Linked DNA regions of Homo sapiens: all the other regions are linked to region 1. The links are contacts of gene promoters, found by promoter capture Hi-C in human tissues and cell types (Jung and others, 2019). All regions are on one chromosome and are shown on one strand. The core of a region is centred on a gene start or on the middle of the fragment in contact, and the rest is flanking DNA. Distances in the headings are between cores, read along the strand shown.

Region 1 (3,141 bases), core at 372-2,871:
AGCTGGGATTATGGGTGCCCACCACCACACCCAACTAATTTTTATATTTTTAGTAGAGACAGGGTTTTGCCATGTTGGCCAGGCTGGTCTCAAACGCCTGACCTCAGGTGATCCGCCCACCTCAGCCTCCCAAAGTGCTGGGATTACAGGCATGAGCCACTGCGCCCAGCCTGAGGCAAATATTTAATCTCTTAACCTGTTCAGTGGTTGCTATTTAGTTAACATCGTATCTGGATTGTCCCATGGACATTCAAGAGGATGGAAAAGTCTACTGTGTTTGGAGAGCAGCAAGGGATAGGGACTATGTCTCTTGTTTCTTTTTCTTTCTTTCTTTCTTCTTCTTTTTTTTTTTTTTTGAGATGGAGTTTTGCTCTTGTTGCCCAGGCTGGGGTGCAGTGGCACAATCTTGGCTCACCGCCACCTTCACCTCCTGGGGTCAAGCGATTCTCCTGCCTCAGCTCCCGAGTAGCTGGGATTACAGGCACGCGCCACCACGCCCGGCTAATTCTGTATTTTTAGTACAGACGATGTTTCACCATGTTGGTCAGGCTGGTCTCGAACTCCCGACCTCAGGTGATCTGCCCGCCTCGGCCTTCCAAAGTGCTGGGATTACAGGCGTGTGCCACCGCGCCCGGCCGGGGCTGCTTCTTAACGCGAGAAATTCCATAATTTCTACGGAAATGCAAACGTTTCTGGGCTGTGCTGGGTTGACCTTTTTCTTTGCATGAGTAATGATTCTTAAAAACATCCGTTCCTTGGCCGGGTGCGGTGGCCCATGCCTATAATCCCAGCACTTTGGGATGCCGAGGCAGGCGGATCACGAGGTCAAGAAATCGAGACCATCCTGGCCAACATGATGAAACCCCCTCCCTACTAAAAATACAAAAATTAGCTGGGCGTGGTGGCGCGCGCCTGTAGTCGCAGCTACTCGGGAGGCTGAGGCAGGAGAATCACTTGAACCCAGGAGGTGGAGGTTGCAGTGAGCCTAGATCGCGCCACTGCACTCCAGCCTGAGGACAGAGCGAGACTCCATCTCAAAACAAAACAAAACAAAAATCCATTCCTCTATTGAGACAAAAAAGAAAAAAAATCACAAGATTCACGTGAAACGGAAAAGCCTCTGCCTTTCAGAACCTTGGCAAAGTCGAACCCCCTCCCCTCTCTGGTTGGGTTGGGCTGGAGAAGCCAGCCCCTGGCACCTGCGCCGCCCCTACCTTCCCACCCCGCGGTGGGGGTAGTTGTGCCTCTGAGCCTGAGCACCTCTTCAGCTGTTTTACTCCCTCCCCTCCCTTGAGTTTCCCATCTCTGCCCCCGCCCAACCCCCCGATTTTTAATCTTGGTGTTTGGAAGGAGGGAGGGGGCAAAAACGGGAGCCAGATGTGTACGAGTCCTCCGCTCCCGCCTCCTCCCTCCTCTCGGGCTTCCTAAAACCCGGAGCCCTAATCAAGGAGGATTCGGAGCCAGACGGTCGCGGCGCAAGCAAACAACTCGGCTCCGCGGCTCCCCCGGGAGTGGAAGCCAGGAGGGAGGGGGAGAGGAAGCGGGGCGTGCTCAGTAGGCGGGACAAAGTTTTTTTTTTTTTCTTCTCCCTTTTTTTCGGTCGCAAGTAGGAAGCTTTTTGCACTCCACCACCTCTGGCCGCTGGGAAGACGTCATCGCTTCCGCCCTACTTCCTCCTCCTGTTGGCGGCGGTGAGAATCCAATATGGAGTAAATCGGTGGAGTCGAGAGATGGGGCTCGGACGGGGCGCCCTGCACCGCCTCCCAGGCGCACCTCCCCCGGCCGCCGACCGCTCCCCGGAACCGTGATTGGCCCGGCCCCCCGGGGGCGACCCCGGACTGAGCCCCCCCACCCGCGGCCGGCGCTCTCCTCCTCCTCGCAGCAGTCCCTGCCGCTCCGAGGCGCGCTTGTTTTTCTCCTGCTCTCCCCCACCGCCGTCCCCTTCCCAAATCTCGCCCCCTCTGCCCGCTCCCGAGCCCCCGGAGCCTCCGCCCGCCTCTCCCCACGGCGCTGCGGCGTTCACTCCCCGCGCAGCCTGCCTTTGCACCCCTTCCCCCAAACCCTATCCCGCGCCCTGCTTCCCCTTCTGCTGCGGCGCCCTCTTCATCTCTAGCCGCCCCCCCTCCCCAAATCAGGCGATCTCCGGAGATGTGAAGAAGGGGGGCGAGCGGACAGGAAGATGAAGGGAGCAAAGCTGCCCGCCGCGGGACAGGCGTCTAGGTGAACAAGAAAATGACCGAAGAAACACACCCAGACGAGTAAGTTTGGTCGCGGGGTGGGACGAGGGTGCCCCTCAGGGGCAGCGTGGGGGCCGGGGCTGAGGATGCGGGCGGGGACGCTTATTGGGTGAACTTGGCGTGGGGTGCAGCGACTCGCTGACCTTTCGGCGTTGGGACGCGAGGCTTCCCTGCTTGTTGAAGTGAGGAGAGGGCAAAAACTGCTGCGGGCTGGCGGGCGCACGCCTAGGGTCGGCGGGCTGGTGGCAGCTCCGGGGGCCAAGGGCGTGCGGGTGACCTCCCGGCGGTCTCCGCTCCCTCTCGGAGGACTTACAGCTCCCCCGCCCCCGAAATCCTCGGCGGCTAGAGCGGAAGACCTGACACCCCCACTCCGGCTTCCCGGGGCTGGTGGGTTTTTGCACAGTGACTTTGTGACTCCCGCCGCCCCGCGAGCCCTGCAGTCCGCTCCGGAGCCCACTGGGGCCTAGGCTCCGCCATTTCGTTTTCTTGAATCGCTCTCATTTGCATACCACATTTTCATTCATAAAAAACACGGCGGAGCGAGAGGAGGACAGGCGCGGGCTGCGCGGGGGTCTGGTGCGCCAGGGTCCCCGCGCGGGCCGGCGTGCTGGAGCCGCCCGAGGGGCCCCGCGGCGCGTGAGTGCCTGTGCACGCGCTTGTGGCCGGCACACGCGTCCTGCGGGGTCGGGCGGCTCGGGGCGGACCGAGGCGTGTGCGGCGGGGGCGTGCGGGGCATCGCGCTGGGGGCGCGCGTGTGTGTGTGTGTATGTGAGTGTCCTCGCGGGTGCGCGTGCACGGGCTTGTGCCTGGCCCGCGGGCCCGAGGGGAACAATGCTCGGGGCGCTCCGCCGGAGGGATCCTGGGCCGCCCCGCGCGGGACCCGTGACTGTCGCCAGCCCGGGGC
Region 2 (3,141 bases), core at 374-2,873, 190 kb after region 1:
ATAAAATCCTCACTGAAATGTTTAAACATACAAGCAATAGAGACAATTAGGTTGAGGTCAGATGCAGTACTACTATATTTAATGGAGTTAATAATTAGGGCCAAATTAACATGGACAGTTATTCCTGAATGCAAATTAACTCATTAAACGATTTAAATTTCCATTTTTCAGTCTACCACATTTTAGCTAACAAGACACAAAAAGTATAAGTCAAAATACTAAGCACAGGAATTCCAAAAAGTAAGCTTCTTTAATTCATTACTGAACTTAAGAACTTTAATTAAGAAAAATAAATGATAACAGCAAAGGTCTAGCTGAGTAGGCAGAGTGTTAGATAGCTCAGGGTTGTTTTTCCAAGCTCTAGTGTTCAAGTTAAATTTATTTGACACAGGTATCTTTTGCTGTTTTCTACTCGAAGAATAATTTAACTTGATAGGCTTACAAGATTGCACAGAGTGAACAGAATTGAGCCAATAGAATACAGAATGACAAACCATACAAGCAAATGCTGCTAGGGAATTCCTTGGCAAAAATGTTTTATTAGCATACTGACAAATTTGATTTCTATCACTTGGCCTTAAACACGAAGAAAGTGGGCATGAAGAGATGTGTAGTTATTTGTGCCTATGTTGCAAAATAAATTTATGGCTATACATGATATTTCTTCATACCTCAAAAATTTTATTGTCCAGTATATAAAAAAGCCATTCTTTAAAAACCTGACACTGAATAAAAAGTATAGCCTTCAACTTCATTAAACAGTTTATCCTTATCACTATTATTAGCTAATTTCCAGTCAAAGTTCATTTAAGATAGAATTCATTCAGAATGAAAGGAGTTCACAATAAGCAAGTAAGGAATCCCACAAATATTCCAAAAGCTCCTTAAAAAGGAAAAACTTACACTGAGTGTCCCATTTTATTTTTTTTGTTAACAGGAGAGGCCAGAAAAATTCGCTACTTTAACTCTGAAAAAAAAAAACTAACACAGAACCCAAGTTTCAGCTTGTATTTTTATTCATTGTGTAACTCAACTCTCTATCCCAAAAGCAGAAGGCTACATAGCAAATCTCTACCACCCATTACCACCTTCCTACATAAAACAAATGTCCCAAAGAGATACGCCCTAATGCATATTTCAAATGACTCATAACCTTACACTGAAGGCTTGCTAAAGACTATCCAGATAGGACAAACAATGCTAGCGTGTTCACAAATAATTCACTAAAAAAGACCCTAAATTCTATGGCATTCTGTATAACTTGATCCTTCAGTCACCTGAAGAACTTAAAGCCAACTGGTGACTACTGTCCTCTCACTGTTCTCTTTCTTGTCAAATATTGTAACTCCTACTTGATTTCTGATCCCTTTAATATGGGAGAAAAATCGATCGTCTTTTCATGTAGTCTTTCATCTTAAATACAGCGAGTAGGCAATGAAAACTTTCCTTCCTCTTTATGGTAAGATACATAATCCAAGGCCAAATAAAGGCTTGAATGGCTTCCTTCTGCACATTATGGAAATAAGTTATATTAATGAAAAGAGGAATCAATGAGATTTACACCCTGTGTTTTCCTAAATGGCTATATAAAAAAGTAGAGGGATCAGGCCATAAAAACATGAAAAGAAAAAGTCTAAGGTGCCAAAGAGACACTCACATACAATGACAAATATATGGAATTGAAAGACATAAAAATACCAGGCCGATTTCTTTTAAAAATTATATTATGTAATAGGACTTAAGTCACTAACACAGCGTTTCACATTAATGTAATAAACTTAAGTATTTTACTCCAAAGAGTAATGGCATCAAGCCATACATAAACAAAATCAGATGAAATTAACTTCAATTTTTGTGCCCCTGTTCAGGTGTTGATATAAATTAAAAATATGAGAACTTCTACCCTCCCCTTTGCTTTTCATGGCAACATATTTTAAAACTACTTAAAAGAACTGTTAAACTACTTTTATAAGAACACCTCACATGTCTTGATTATCATTTATCAATAAATAAAATATTACCTTGATTTCAATGTTTCCCACTTTGGTGGTTGATCTGATAATAGGTCTTCCAACCAAAGCTGGGAAGATGTGTTCTGGAAAGTTAGAGCCTGCATATCCACACTTCACAAACTGGAATGAAACAGTAAAATAAAAGTGGGTTAGCATCAGGATATTTACTATATTTTAAGACAGCATCTGAAAAATATCACTTTGCATTTATATAACATTTTAAACTTTTGGTGCTTTCAGTCCACCCGAAGTAGCCACTCAATCTATCGCAACATCTCCTTTTAACTTCTTTCACGGCATTGCCTACTTCCAGGGTTCATGTTTATTTACTGCTAAATTAGTGCCTAAGTTCCCTCACTAGACCAAAAGCCTCATAAGAGCAGGGAGCTAAGCTGAGCAGTTCGTGCTGGAATCCAATACCTAACAGAGCTCCTGGCACACAGTGCTCACTCCAGAAGTATCTGTGGGATGGACAAATTCGCTGAACAAATGCTAAGGTTTTTTTTGTTTTTGTTTTGAGACGGAGTTTCACTCTTTTTGCCCAGGCAGAAGTGCAATGGCACAATCTCGGCTCACTGCAACCTCCGCCTCCTGGGTTCAAGTGATTCTCCTGCCTCAGCCTCCCAAGTAGCTGGGATTACAGGCATGCGCCACTAAGCCCAGCTAATTTTGTATTTTTAGTAGAGACGGGGTTTCTCCATGTTGGTCAGGCTGGTCTCAAACTCCCGACCTCAGGTGATCCGCCTGCCTCAGCGTCCCAAAGTGCTGGGATTACAGGCGTGAGCCACCATGCCCGGCAAAATGCTAAGTATTTTTAGAAAGAGAAATGTGAGAAAATGAACAGAACTAAAGCTTCAATTCTAAAGCAGACTTTCATTCATTTTGGGCAAATCGCTTAGAGAATGTCATTTTCCAAAATGGGAAAACCAAGTGTCATTTAAACTAATATCACCGTATTATGAAAAGAAACATTTATTAGGCATTTTTGGCTATTTATTTCTTTGAGACGGAGTTTCACTCTTGTCGCCCAGGCTGGAGTGCAGTGGCGTGATCTCAGCTCACTGCAACCTCTGCCTCCCAGGTCCAAGCAATTCTCCTGCCTTAGCCTCCCAAGTAGCTGGGATTACAG
Region 3 (3,141 bases), core at 408-2,907, 130 kb after region 1:
TTTTTAATGTTTTTAAAAATTATTTTTGTAGAGACAGGGTTGCACTATGTTGCCCAGGCTGGTCTCAAACTCCTCGGCTCAAGCGATCCTCCTACCTTGGCCTCTCAAAGTGCTGGGATTACAGACGTGAGCCACCATGCCTGGCCTTCAATGATTGCTCCTGCTCCTTACAGTTCAAGTTTCTTCCTTTGGGTTACGTAATTCATAGATTGACTCTCCAGTCTTCCATATCTATTGTATTTGCTCATCATTTGCATCTTGCCCTTTTATTAAATTACACTCTTAACTTTGTCCTCTTTAAAATGATTTTTTTCCTTTTTTTTTCTTTTTTTTTTTTTTTTTTTTTTTTGCTATAGTACTCTTTTTCAAAGAGTGGTCTGCAGAGAGACACCTGAGAATCCCTGAGGTTAAAATCATCTTAATAAGACGGTGTTTGATTTTTCCACTGTGTTGACATTTACATTGATGGTGCAGAAACAATGAAGGGTAAAACTTAGCGCTAGTCAAAGCGGACTACCAAATTGTGCTAGTCTAATCATTGCATGTTCTTAGAAAAAAATGCCAGTTTCACTTAAGAATGTACTCGATGAAGCAGGCCTGGGGCAGTGGCTCACACCTGTAATCCCCACACTTTGGGAGGCCGAGGCGGGCGAATCGCCTGAGGTTGGGAGTTCGAGACCAGCCTGACCAACGTGGAGAAACCCCATCTCTACTAAAAATACAAAATTAGCTGGGCATGGTGGTGCACACCTGTAATCCCAGCTACTCCGGAGGCTGAGGCAGGAGAATTGCTTGAACCTGGGAGGTGGAGGTTGCAGTGAGCTGAGATTGCGCCACTGCACTCCAGCCTGGGCAACAAGAGCAAAACTCTGTCTCAAAAAAAAAAAAAGAATGTACTTGATGAAGCAATAAATATGATTACTTTTAATACATATTGACCCTTGAGTTCACATCTTCTTAATATTTTGTGTGACAAAATGGAATATATATGTAAAGCACTTCTGTTGCACAGTTAAGTATTGTTGTCTTGAAGTAAAGCTTTTGTGCAACTGTTTTGAGTTGCAAGCTGAAGTAGCTGCTTTTGTCATGGGACACCACTTTTACTTGAAAGAGTGACAGACTGTCATTATGGTTATGTTGTATGGTTATTCAGGAAGGGGTATTTGGCATACACTTTCTCAAAAAAAATGAGCAAAATGAGCCTATTACTTCAAAGAGACAACAGACAGTTTTGTTGTCAGTGACAAAATCTGAGCTTTCAAGCAAAAATTGGAATTTTGTGAAATATGTATCTGCTACTGTTGGCTTGACAATTTCCCAATAGACTTTTTTTTTTTTCCATGAAATTGGTGGTGATATTAAGAAATGCAATTTTGGCCAGGCACAGTGCCTCACACCTATAATCCCAGCACTTTGGGAGGCCAAGGTGGGCGGATCACGAAGTCAGGAGTTCGAGACCAGCCTGGCCAACATGGCAAAACCCCGTCTCTACTAAAAGTACAAAAGTTAGTCAGGTGTGGTGGCGGGTGCCTGTAATCCCAGCTACTCGGGAGGCTGAGGCAGGAGAATCGCTTGAACCCAGGAAGCGGAGGTTACAGTGAGCCAAGATCGTGCCATTGCACTCCAGCCTAGGAGACAAGAGCAAAGGATATGTGATTTTAAAATATATATTGTATAATGAAAATGATATGTGTCAACTTTCAGATCTGCAATAGAGTCAATATCTTCCAAATGACCAATGTATTGCTGTTAAAAAATCACGCATGGGTAAAAGATCCATTCAGAGTGAAAGGCCCATAATGAACGTTGGGTTTTTGTTTTAGTATTTTTTGTTTGTTTTGTTTTGTTTTGCTTTGTTTTGTTTTTTTGAGATAGTGTCACTCTGCCGCCCAGGCTGTGGAATGCAGTGGTGTGATCTTGGGTCACTGCAGCCTCTGACTCCCGGGTTCAAGCGACTCTCGTGCCTGAGCATCCCAAGTAGCTGGGACTATAGGCACACACCACCATGCCTGGCTAATCTTTGTGTTTTTAGTAGAAACAGAGTTTCCCCCATGTTGCCCAGGCTGGTCTCGAACTCCTGACCTGAAGTGATCCTCCTGCCTTGGCCTCCCAAAGTGCTGGGATTATAGGCGTGAGCCACTGCGCCCAGCCCCCATAATGAATTTTGATGTAACCAAGTGATGTGGTTTTAGATTCCACAACTAACCTTTCTTTTTCCTGGAGACGGAGTTTCGCTCTTGTCACCCAGGCTGGAGTGCAGTGGTGCGATCTCAGCTCACTGCAGCTTCCACCTTCTGGATTCAAGCTATTCTCATGCCTCAGACTCCCGAGTAGCTGGGATTACAGGCACCTGCCACCACACCCAGCTAATTTTTGTATTTTTAGTAGACAAGGGGTTTTGCCATGTTGGCCAGGCTGGTCTTGAACTTCCGACCCTAGGTTATCTGCTTGCCTCGGCCTCCCAAAGTGCTGGGATTACAGGCATGAGCCACTGCACCCAACCTCCCACGACTAACCTTTAAGAAATTATTACCTATGAGTTTTGGCAGAGTATCAAAGAAGACTACCTACAAGGATCTCTCAAAAGACTATTAAACTCTCTTCCCTTTTCCAACAACATATCTGTCTAAGGTCAGGTTTTCTTCATATACTTCAATCAAAACAACACATTACAACAGATTGAACTCAGAAGCAGATATGAGAATCCAGCTGTCTTCTATTAATTAAAGGTTTTCAAAATATAAGCCAGTATTTCTGTTCTCTAAAATATTTTTTATTTGGCAAATGTAGTTATTTCTTTCTCTTTTTTTGAAGCAAGGTCTCCCTCTGTCTCCCCAACTGGAGTGTAGTGGTGCAATCGTAGCACACTAACCTCAAACTCCTGGGCTCAAGCAACTCTCCCACCTTGGCCTCCCAAAGTACTGGGATTATAGGCGTGAGCCACTGTGCCCGGCCTCCTTAGTAATTTTTAAGAGTGTACAGAGATCCTGAGAACAAAGTGTGTGGCCTCTTCCTCTCTTGGTTAACAGGCTGTTTTGTAGTCAATTCTGCTCTCATTCCCTTCAACTGCAGCTTTGACTCTGGTCTTCTATTTTTGGTTACTTTGTATTGCCTTCTTATTTTAGACAGCTCCCTTTGTAT

What was found. The method cuts DNA at HindIII sites, captures the fragments that hold promoters and counts their contacts. A contact is called where the count stands out against the background at its distance.
Region 2: a fragment that was not itself captured here is called in contact with the fragment with the promoter of SPRED2 in region 1 in 1 of the 25 tissues and cell types used here (mesenchymal stem cells).
Region 3: a contact is called between a fragment that was not itself captured here and the fragment with the promoter of SPRED2 in region 1, in 3 of the 25 tissues and cell types used here (IMR-90 fibroblasts, adrenal gland and lymphoblastoid cells).

What each region holds. Positions count from the first base shown.
Region 1 is chr2:65,431,079-65,434,219 of GRCh38, reverse strand. It overlaps SPRED2 (sprouty related EVH1 domain containing 2), which reads left to right and starts at 1,621. Exons shown (of 6, transcript NM_181784.3): 1 at 1,621-2,258. The coding sequence starts at 2,233. RefSeq lists silencers at 1,719-1,918, 2,689-2,738, 2,769-3,141. The HindIII fragment of the contact is 4,754 bases long and covers 1-3,141 here.
Region 2 is chr2:65,238,843-65,241,983 of GRCh38, reverse strand. ACTR2 (actin related protein 2) reads right to left here. Exons shown (of 9, transcript NM_005722.4): 2 at 2,022-2,132. Among named protein-coding and RNA genes, the nearest start is that of ACTR2, 13 kb to the right of the region's middle. The HindIII fragment of the contact is 3,672 bases long and covers 1-3,141 here.
Region 3 is chr2:65,302,738-65,305,878 of GRCh38, reverse strand. No RefSeq gene overlaps it. Among named protein-coding and RNA genes, the nearest start is that of ACTR2, 76 kb to the right of the region's middle. The HindIII fragment of the contact is 6,401 bases long and covers 1-3,141 here.